Linked DNA regions of Homo sapiens: region 1 is linked to region 2. Evidence: promoter capture Hi-C in 16 types of primary human blood cells and fetal thymus (Javierre and others, 2016). All regions are on one chromosome and are shown on one strand. Each heading gives the region's core, a stretch centred on a gene start or on the middle of the fragment in contact. The rest is flanking DNA. Distances are from core to core; before and after follow the strand shown.

Evidence for each region. The method cuts DNA at HindIII sites, captures the fragments that hold promoters and counts their contacts. A CHiCAGO score of 5 or more calls a contact.
Region 1: a contact is called between the fragment with the promoter of N4BP3 here and the fragment with the promoter of TMED9 in region 2, in 8 of 17 cell types (naive CD8 T cells, non-activated CD4 T cells, total CD4 T cells and 5 more). The highest score is 11.5, in naive CD8 T cells.

Annotation. Positions count from the first base shown.
Region 1 is chr5:178,110,373-178,115,648 of GRCh38, reverse strand. It overlaps N4BP3 (NEDD4 binding protein 3), which reads right to left and starts at 2,117. Exons shown (of 5, transcript NM_015111.2): 1 at 1,878-2,117. RefSeq lists silencers at 308-417, 1,028-1,077, 1,428-1,747, 1,828-2,377 and enhancers at 888-947, 476-989. The HindIII fragment of the contact is 16,661 bases long and covers 1-5,276 here.
Region 2 is chr5:177,588,278-177,593,452 of GRCh38, reverse strand. It overlaps TMED9 (transmembrane p24 trafficking protein 9), which reads right to left and starts at 1,250. Exons shown (of 5, transcript NM_017510.6): 1 at 1,055-1,250; 2 at 778-878. The coding sequence starts at 1,238. RefSeq lists an enhancer at 1-45. The HindIII fragment of the contact is 2,414 bases long and covers 1-2,237 here.

The DNA of each region.
Region 1 (5,276 bases), core at 868-3,367, 520 kb before region 2:
AGAGGAAACTGAGGTTCAGAAAGTGAAGTAACACGCCTAAGGTCACGTTCAGCCGCAGGGGAGAAAGCACACAGGCTCCAGGATTAGAAGTCCTCTCGGATCCCACCTTGCATCTCCTCTGGGGTGGGACATTCCAGTCCCCACATGGGCAGGAGTGCTGCCTGCCCTGGCTACAGTCAGCCCCTCCTGAGCCCTGGCCCCAGGGAAAGGTCCCACCACCTGCTGGGGGATCAGCTCTGCTAAGGGGCGTGTCTGCAGCTGCCCCTAAGGAATGGGACTGGAATGTCCCAGCTCCAAAAGGGGGGGGTAGTAGGCAAGGGGGGCCCAGAGAGGGGCTGGGAGAGGCTGGCCCACCCCATCCCCTCTGTGACAGACACTTGAGGCAGAGACAGGGGCTAAAGCCTGCGGAAGTGGTGCTTAGTATCACCATATAGTGCTTCACGGCTGCACCGCAGTCTACAGTTTTTTCTCAGCCCTTCTATTTCATTATCTCATTTCATCTCCACAATAGCCTCGTGGGGGCAAACAGGACAGTAATTACCCTCACGCCATTTTACAGATCGGGAAACTGAGGCCTCGGAAGGCGAGGTGAGTTATCCAAGATCCCACAGTGAGAAGCAATCTCAACTCCCTGGGCAAGGTCCTTTCTACCTCAGCAGGTTGTCCTAAGCCAGGGGTCACGGGTTCCCCTCCATGGGCACACACTGCTGTGTATGTATTGCATATATGTCTGCCCAGCCCTCCATGCCTGTTTCTCCCAAGGACACTTGCAACCAGGCTGCCCTAGACTGCGGTCCACCAGGCCTGGAATCCCTCCTGCTGCCCCCCAGGTCAGGAAGAAATAGAGGAAACCTGCCTCATGGGGACTCCGAGTCGCTATGCTAGCTCTAGAGGCGGTGGCAGAGGCAGGCTGGCCGCATTCATTCACAGTCTGGCACATGCACACCACACGCTGCCAGCCGGTAGAGAAGCCCTGCCTGGGAGGGCCCTGGGAGGAGGCTGATAACCGCGCCCAGGATGGCCTCCTGCGTCCGCTCCCTCCCGAGGACAGCCAGGCCCAATCTGTTCCTATGTGGTTGGGGTCGGGGGGTGGCCCAGTGGGAGGCAACGGGTCTCAGTTCTCTTTCTGGATACAGCCAGGGCCCTGATTTCGGCTTGTCCCCAGGCCAGCCCTCACTTGGGCCAAAGGCTGTGGCCGGGACTGGACCGGGTGCTCTGGCGGTCAAGACCTAGGAATGTCCCCTACCCGCAGACCCGCAGCTGCAGCCTGGTGGACCGGCAGGGGGTTGGGGGATAAAGGAGGTGTGGGAGGAAGCGAGAGATCTCATGGGGAAGTCAGAGGGGCAAACGAGGTTGCATCCCCACGGAATTTGTGTCAGGAAAGCAGGGGTGAAGGCGAGGGTTCCCCAAAGCTGCGGGAGGTCCCGGAGCTACCTGGGGGGCGGGGTGGGAGGCGCGTCTCCTCCTGGCCCCTCCCTGAGGCCTGCCGGGAGCGGCTGGGCCGGGGGGCGGAGGCCGAGGTCAGACGCCGGCGCCAAGGACGCCTGCCCCACCCAGCCGTGGCGCAGGGGTCCCGCGCGCTGCTCCCTGGAAAGCGCGTTTGCAGGGGTTGGGGAGAGCAAGGTAGCCTGCCGCCTGCCCCTCCAGCGGAGCATCGGGGTCGGTCCCCGATCCGGTGCCTCGGTGACCGGGAGCAGGGGACACCTGGGCGCACGCCGCACCTTGCCACCCCCGCCCATCTCTCAGACGGGAGCCTCGGCCAGCGGGACAGCAGCTTTGCCAAGGACGCCCGAAAACAAGACCTTGGCGACCCGCCCCACCCCTCCCCACCCCCCGAGTCCAGCCCGGGTCCCCAGCCCCTCGCGCGCCCCACTTACCATGGTGGCGACGCGCTCGCCGGCCCGCGGCTCCGCAGCCCTTGCGCGTCGCAGCTCCCCCGCGCGGATTTGAACCCTCCTGCAAGGCGTCGGCTCGGGCCGGGACTGCGTGCCGGGTCGGAGCGGCGGAGCGGCAGGCGCCGGGAAAACGCGGGCGGGCGCCGGCGCCGGAGCCGGATTGGCGAGGGAGGGACGCGCTCCGCGGCGCTCGATCGCCTGCCCCAAAGGCGGAGGGAAAACCCGGCCTGACTCACCGGCGCGCGGCAAGCCCACAGCCCGGCCCCGGCCCCCGGATGTGGGGGGCGGGGCCGCCTACCCGCGAGCCAACCTGGGCCCCGCCCGGCCCCGACCGCGCCCCCGGCCCTGACCCGCAGAGGCGCCGCACGGCGGTGGCGGGCGAAACCTGGACCGGCTGCGCCTCGCGTCGCTGCCTCCTTGAGCGCCCCGGCTCGTTCCCGAGGGGTGGGCAGCCCCGAGCGCGGCCCACGCCCCAGAGAGCGCACAGCGCCCCCGCTTCTCCTCCTCCGCCGTTCGCCTCGCCCGCCTCCTCTAAGGAAGAGGCGCGTGAGGTCCCTCACCTCCCTAATTGTAGCCGCCTCCTCTCCGGAAAACCTGATTTCCCCCCTTTGGGGATGAACCACAGTAGTACTTTGAGAAGTGAAAAGATTTTACCCCACGACTCTGGCTGAATTGGGCACAGAGTTATTTTCTTTTTGCCTCCAAAGTATTCTAGGGGCAGCAAAATCAGGTGCCTTCAGGGGCCAGAAAAATTACGCAAATGAGTCGTGAGCTTCCTACTAAGACAGTAGGAAGACATGGAAACAGACACAGACACGTAAAGGAGTCATATTCGAAAAATTAAAACACCGTTTCTAATTCAAAAGTTAAGCATAGAGTTACCATATGATCCGGCAATTATAGTCCTCAAACAAGTAATGTTCTTGGCAGTACTAGTCACAATAGTCAAAGAGCCAAAAGGTGGAAACAGCCCAAACTAACAATTGATGAGGGTGTAAGCAAACAATGGTAGATCCATTCAGTGGAATATTATTCAGCCATAAAAAAGAAATGAACGCCATGTGATGACTCATGTCTGAACTCTCCCAGCACTTTTGGAGGCCAGGAGTTCAGGAACAGCCTGGGCAACTCACAAAACTCCATCTCTATCTTAAAAAAAAAAAGACCTGATGTGGTGGCTCACCCCTGTAATCCTAGCATTTTGGGAGGCCGAGGCAGGCGGCTCACTTGAGGTCAGGAGTTTGAGACCAGCCTGGCCAACATGGCGAAATTCTATCTCTACCAAAAACACCAAACATTAGCCAGGCATGGTGGAGCGAGCCTGTAATCCCAGCTACTCGGGAGGCTAAGGTAGGAGAATTGCTTGAACCCAGGAGGCAGAGTTGCAATGAACGGAGATTGTGCCACTACACTCCAGCCTGGATGATGGCGTAAGCCTGTCTCAAAAAAAAAAAGAAAGAAAAGAAAAGAAAAAGAGGAATGAAACACTGATGATACCTGCTACAACATGGATAAACCTCCAAAACATGGCAAGTGAAAGAAACCAGACACAAAGCCCACATGTGTTAATGATGCCATTTATAATAAGTAAATCCAGACAAACAGAAAGCAGATTAGAGCCAGAGGCTGTGGGGAGAGAGAAAGGCAGAGTGATTGCCTAACAAGCATAGGGTTTCCTTCTGGGATGAGGAAAATGTTTTGGAGCCTGACAGAGGTGGTGGTTGCACAACGTTATGAATATACAAATGTCATTGAATTGTTTGCTTTAAAACGGCTAATTTTATGGTATGCACATTTTACCTCAATTAAAAAACATCTTGTCACTTGTGGAACAGATTTGGTCTACGGCCCACAAATTTGCAACCCCTTGTGTTCTATGCTGTTCTTACCAATTCTTGCTAGGACAGCATAGAACCTCTAGGAAGAACTTCTGGCCAGGCATGGCGGCTCACGCCTGTAATCCCAGCACTTTGGGAAGACGAGGTGGGCAAATCAATTAAGGCAAATGATTTGCCTGCCTCAGCCTCTCAGTGTGCTGGGAGTACAGGCGTGAGCCACCATGCCTGGCTGAAAGAACTTTTTTTTTGAGATGGAGTCTTGCTCTGTCGCCCAGGCTGGAGTGCAGTGGTGCGATCTCAGCTCGCTGCAAGCTCCGCTTCCCGGGTTCACGCCATTCTCCTGCCTCAGCATCCCAAATAGCTGGGACTACGGGTGCCCACCACCACACTCGGCTAATTTTTTGTATTTTTAGTGGAGATGGGGTTTCACCATGTTAGCCAGGATGATCTCGATCCCCTGACCTCGTGATCCACCCCCCCTTGGCCTCCCAAAGTGCTAGGATTACAGGCATAAGCCACTGCGCCCGGCAACTTTTTTTTTTTTTTGAGATGGAGTTTCACCCTTGTTGCCTAGGCTGAAGTGCAATGGCGTGATCTCAGCTCACTGCAACCTCCCCCTCCCAGGTTCAAGCGAGTCTTCTGTCTCAGCCTCCCGAGTAGCTGGTTGGCACAGGTGTGTGCCACCATGCCCGGCTAATTTTGTATTTTTAGTAGAGACGGGGTTGGTCAGGCTGGTCTTGAACTCCCGACCTCAGGTGATCCACCTGCCTCGGCCTCCCAAAGTGCTGGGATTACAGGCGTGAGCCACCACGCCCGGCCAGAATTTCTAATAGAACTGCCAGACTTCAGAATACTTGTCTAAGAAAACTCATTAATAGCTGCTGTGGGTCTCAGCCCTTGAGGAGCCAGTCTGGTAGGGTTACTCACTGGGACAGATAAAGTTTCAGAGCAAGAACCTGTTTGGCTGTTTGGGGGACCCAAGGAAAGGCCTCACTGGAGCAATGGTTTTTGAGATGGTCCTGGAAGCATTTCCACTGAGGAGTGTTCCCAGCAGAGCAGATAGCAGGGCTAGAGAAGGCAGGGCACGTTCAGCTTGCTAGCAAGGTCCAAGCCCTGGGTGGGAAAGGTTAGTGGTGGGAAGGGACGAAGGTGGCAACCGAGAGCAGACCCAGAGAAGCCTCTTGAAGTGGGCGCTGGGAGCCTCCGAAGCATTGAGAGAGAGGAGCTTGTGCACGCAGCTGGACGTGGGGCCTGTGAGGTGGCACAGGCAGGCAGGGAGGTCGGGTCCCCTGGGTCTCTAGGGAAAGAAATGGGGCCAAGGAGGACCTGGAAGCTGGAAGCTGCCGAGAAGGTGTTCATTCTGTCAACTGAGTGGGAGAGACAGTGATAGAGATGTTTATGAGAGGGTTTGAATGAAGGTTCTTATAAGAATCCACTTGCAAGAAATGGCATGAGGAAGAGAGAGAGAGGTCACAGCTAAGTTCTGATGAAAACTCAGATTCTGGGTTGGGTGCAGTGGCTCACGCCTGTAATGCCAACGCAT
Region 2 (5,175 bases), core at 1-2,500:
GAGAGTCTGACATTAGGGTGGCAAGTGACTGACTGCTCTTGGGAAGGGCTTTCCTTTATAGCTTATGCCCTTTCAACTTTTTTGGTGTGAGTTGTTTTTTGGGGGGTTCTTTTTTGTTTTTGTTTTTGAGACAGAGTCTCACTCTGTCGTCCTGGCTGGAGTGCAGTGATGCTATCTCAGCTCACTGCAGCCTCAGCTTCCCAGGTTCAAGCAATTATCGTGCCTTAGCCTCCCAAGTATCTGGTATTAGAGGTGTGCGCCACCACACCCGGCTCATTTTTTTTTTTTTTTTTTTTTGTATTTTTACTAGAGACGGGGTTTGCCAGACGGAGGTTGCCCAGGCCGGTCCTGAACTCCCGGCCTCAAGTGATCCACCCGCCTCGGCATCCCAAAGTGCTGGGATTACAGGCAAGAGCCACCACACCCCGCCATGAGTTTTTTAACGAAAAGTGACAGAAGGTGAGAGCTGAAGGGTTTTGCCGTTCGTTTTAATATCCTTACTTGGGAAGATTAAAAGCTGCTCATTTTGTGGGGAAAGTATCATGTTCTGTGAAATCTTAAAGTCTAGATGACTTTAAGAGTTGACAAAACTCTTTGATTTTTATCACCACAATTAATCCGCCCATTTCACAGACCGGGCGGGGTCTGCAAGTCAGCAGGATATTCCCACAACATCAACTGTCTCTCCCACTTTAGCAGATGCAGGAACTAGAAGAGGAAGTACCGGAGCCCGCCTAGCTGAGAGGCTGGCGGAGAGGAGGGGGGCGGTTGGCTCACCTTGTCCTCTGGGTCCTTCACCTCCACAAACATGCCAAGCCCCGGGGTGGCCGGCTGGTACTCCTCCCGCTGCTTGTCATACAGCTGCGTCCGGTAGTTTCCTTGAGGGAAGCAGGGCGAGCCCAGGTCAGAGGAGCGCGAGGTGGCATGGGTTCCGCGACCGCCTGGGCACGGCGAGGCCGTCTCCTCCCGGCTCTAGAGAGCTGACTGTCTCGCATCCCCCGCCCCAAGACCACGGTCACGTTCCAAACTCGCCCCTTCCTCCCCGCCCCCGCACCTATGACCATGGTCTCGTCCGGGATCTCCTCAATAAAGCACTTCTTCTCCGTCTCTCCGATGTGAAAGTAGAGCGCGCTTCCGCGCGTCGCCAGCCACAGCACCAGCAGGAGGGTCCGCATCACTCTACCCAGCCCGGTTCCGGGCCGGGGCCGGACGAGCAGCACGCCCAGCTCCACAGCCATCTTGCTCCACCTGCCTGCGCAGCCGCAGCCGGCCGCGCCACGTCGCCCTGCCGCCGCCGCGGTGCCTGCCGGGACCGCGAGTTCCGCCGGGTGGACCACAAATCCCGAGATGTCCCGCGGCCCTGGCGCGGCAGTACCTGATTGGGGCGCGGCTTTTACCTGAGAGAGAGCGGGTGCCCTAGAATAAAAACTTATTTCCGTTGACTCTCTTCATGGCCTGGCAACTGACGATGGTTACCAGCTTTTCATAGATGAAACTGAGGTCGTTTGTTTGAGGTTGCGGAGCGAATTGCGAACAGAGACAGGATTCGAACCTAGGATCCCTGACTTTCCTTGGCACAGCATCTACCAGTCTTGATTTGCTTCTACCTTTAAAAATGAATTTAAAGAGAACGACCAAATAATGCACAAATGTATTATCAAAAAAGATTAAAAGAAATAAAAGGCAAGGTCTCCCATTACCACTTCTTTGTCCTCATACCCTGTCCACTCCTAAATCGGGTGTTACCCTCTCAAGCATTTCTCCGATCACACACACACACAAACACACACACAGCCTCTGCTGCCAGATCCCAACTGCAATGGCTCGTTACTAGCAATTCTACAGAAATAGAAAGGATCATAAGAGAGTACTATGAGCAAATATAAGCCAACAAATTGGATAACGTAGATGAAATGGACAAATTCATAGAAATGCAAAACTGACTCAGAATAGATAATATAATCTGAATAAACCTATAACTAGTGAGGAGATTGAATCAGTAATTTAAAAAAAATCATCCTTACTTAATATAGTTAAGATGTCAATACTATCCAAAGCAATCTACAGATTTAATGCAATTCCTGTCAAAATCCCAATGACATTTTTTGTAGAAACAGAGAAACTCATTCTACAATTCATATACTCTCAAGGGATTTCGATTAGCCAAAACAATCCTGAAAAATAAGAATAAAGCTGAAGAACTCACACTTCCTGATTTCAAAACTTACTTCCAAGCTTCAGTCATCAAGACAGTGTGGTACTGGCATATAGACAGACATATAGACCAATGGAATACAATAGAGAGCCCCAAGATATGCCCTCCCATATATGGTCAAATAATTTTTAACAAGGAGACCAAGCCCATTCAATGCGGGGAGGAGGGACAGTCTTTCTAACAAATGGTGCTGGGAAAACTGGATATCCACATGCAAAAAAGTGAAGGTGGTTCCTTCTCTAACACCATAGATAAAAATTCACCCAAAAAGACCCACAACTTTTAAAATCCCAAAGCATAAAACTCATAGAAAACATATGGCAAAGGGTTTACCACATCGGATTTGGCAACAGACTTCCTGGATATGACACTAAAGGCACAGGCAACAAAAGAAAAAATAGACAAATTGGACTTTATGAAAATTAAAACATTTTGTGCATCAAAAGACTCTGTAGCAGAGTAAAGAGGCAACCCACAGAATGGAAGAAAATATTTGCAAATCATATATCTGACAAAGGATTAATATCCAGAATATGCAGAGACTCCTAAAACTCAGCAACAAAATAAGAACAATCTCATTCAAAAACCACAACAAAGGGCTTGAATAGACATTTCTCCAGTGATCAACAAGTGGCCAGTGAGCACATGAAAAGATACTCAACATCACTAATCATTAGAGAAACACAAATCACAATGAGATAAAGAACAATGAGATACTACGTCATATACCCATTAAGATGGCCACTAGAAAAAAAAAAAGGAAAAGAAAGAAACTACAAGCATTGGCAAGGATGTGGGGAAATTGAACCCTTGTGCACTGTTGGTGGGAATGTAAAATGGTACAGACACTGTGGAAAACCGTATAATGATTCCTCAAAAAAGTGAAAATAGGCTGGGCATGGTGGCTTACGCCTATAATTCCAGCGCTTTGGGAGGCAGAAGCAGGAGGATTGCTTGAGCCCAGGAGTTCGAGACCAGTCGGGGCAACATGACGAAACCCCATCTCTACAAAAAATACAAAAATTAACTGGATCTGGTGGCATGCGCCTGTAGTCCCAGCTACTCAGGAGGCTGAGGCAAGAGGATTGCTTGAGCCTGGGAGGTCAAGGCTACAGTGAGCTGTGATCATGCCACTGCACTCCAGCCTGGGTGACAAAGCAAGACACTGTCTCAAAATAAATAAATAAAAATAGAATTACCATATGATTCAGCAAGTCCATATCTAGAGATATCCTCAAAATAATTAAAAGTAGGGTCTCAAAGAGATATTTGTACACATATGTTCACAGCAGCATTATTCACAAGCAAAAAAAAAAATGGAAGCAACCCAGTTCTTCATCAGTAGATGAATAGATAAGCAAAATATGGTACATCCACACAATGGAAATCCTTTCAGCCTTAGAAAGGATGGGAATTCTGACACATGCTACAACATAGATGAATCTTGAAGAAACATTACGCTAAGTGGACTAAGCCAGACATAAAATGATAAATACTGGGTAATTCCATGTATATGAGGTACTAGAGTCGTCAAAATCACAGAGACAGAAAGCAGAATGGTGGTTGCCAGGGACTGGAGGACAGGGAGAGTGAAGTTATTGTTTAATAGGTATAGAGTTTCAGTTTTCCAAGATAAAAAGAGTTCTGTAGATGGATGGTGGTGAGAGTTCTATGGCAATATAATGTACTTAATCCCACTGAAGTGTACAGTTAAAAACAGTCAACTTTGGCCGGGCACGGTGGCTCACGCTTGTAATCCCAGCACTTTGGGAGACCGAGGCGGGAGGATCACAAGGTCAGGAGATCGAGACCTGCCTCACCAACATGGAGAAACCCTGTTTCTACTAAAAATACAAAATTAGCCTGTGTGGTGGCACATGCCTGTAATCCCAGCTCCTCGGGAGGCTGAGGCAGGAGAATTACTTGAACCTGGGAAGCAGAGGTTTGGTGAGCTGAGAAGGCACCTTTGCATTCTAGCCTGGGCAACAAGAGTGAAACTCCATCTCAAAAAAAAAAACAAAAGTGTGGTAGAATGCTCCAGTGTAATCATCTGGGCCTTGAAATTTCCTTTTGGGGAGTGTTTTAATTATGAATTAAATTTCCTTAATAGCTATAGGGCTATTCAAAGTATCTATTTCATACTAGTAAGTTGTGATAGTGTGTGCTTTTTGAGTAATTGATCTATTTTGCCTAAATTGTTACATTTATGTATGTAGAGGTTCAGTCAGGATGGTGGGGAAAATTATACAATAAAACACAAAACTTGGAAGGCCAAAAGGTTTTTGCTTAGCTTCAGATAGTTTGGCTGAAAGCGGCCTAATCCTCTTTGAGCCATAGCAAGGGTAAGTAACATAGGAATGTAGAGGAGTCTATCTAAATAGCTTGTTTACTCATGTGGTTCTAAAAGTAACCTTTAATCATTCGCGGGCAGGATGGCGCTCTGGGGGAGGCAGGGGAAGGCGACCAGGTTGATTACCCTCTAATGGTGTTTACTTGAGACTTTTGCTGTGTTTAATGTGTGCTAAGTAAATGACGAGAAGGCCAGCGAGTAGGAGGCGGGGAGTCGGGGCCACGTTGCAAATGTACAGCACTCTCCTGGGAGTCTGTAGGGGGCCTGGACAATCGGCCTGACTGACAAGCAGAATATCTGTGTCAGTGTACATTATTCATCTGTCGTTGAGTTGAGGTCTGCAGCACACACCCCCACATATGTATGTAAAGTTGTCCGTGGAATTATTCTCTTATGATCCTTCTGATGTGGGCAGGGTCTGTACTGATGTCACCCGTTTCATTACTGATACTGGTGATTTATGTCTTCTTTTTTCTGTATCAGTCTTGTAAGAGGTTTGTCAATTTTATCAGTCTTTTCAAAGAATCAGCTTTTTGTGTCATTGATTTTCTCTGTTGCTTTTCTGTTTTTAATTTCATTGGTTTCTGCTTGTTATTTTTTCCTCTTCTGC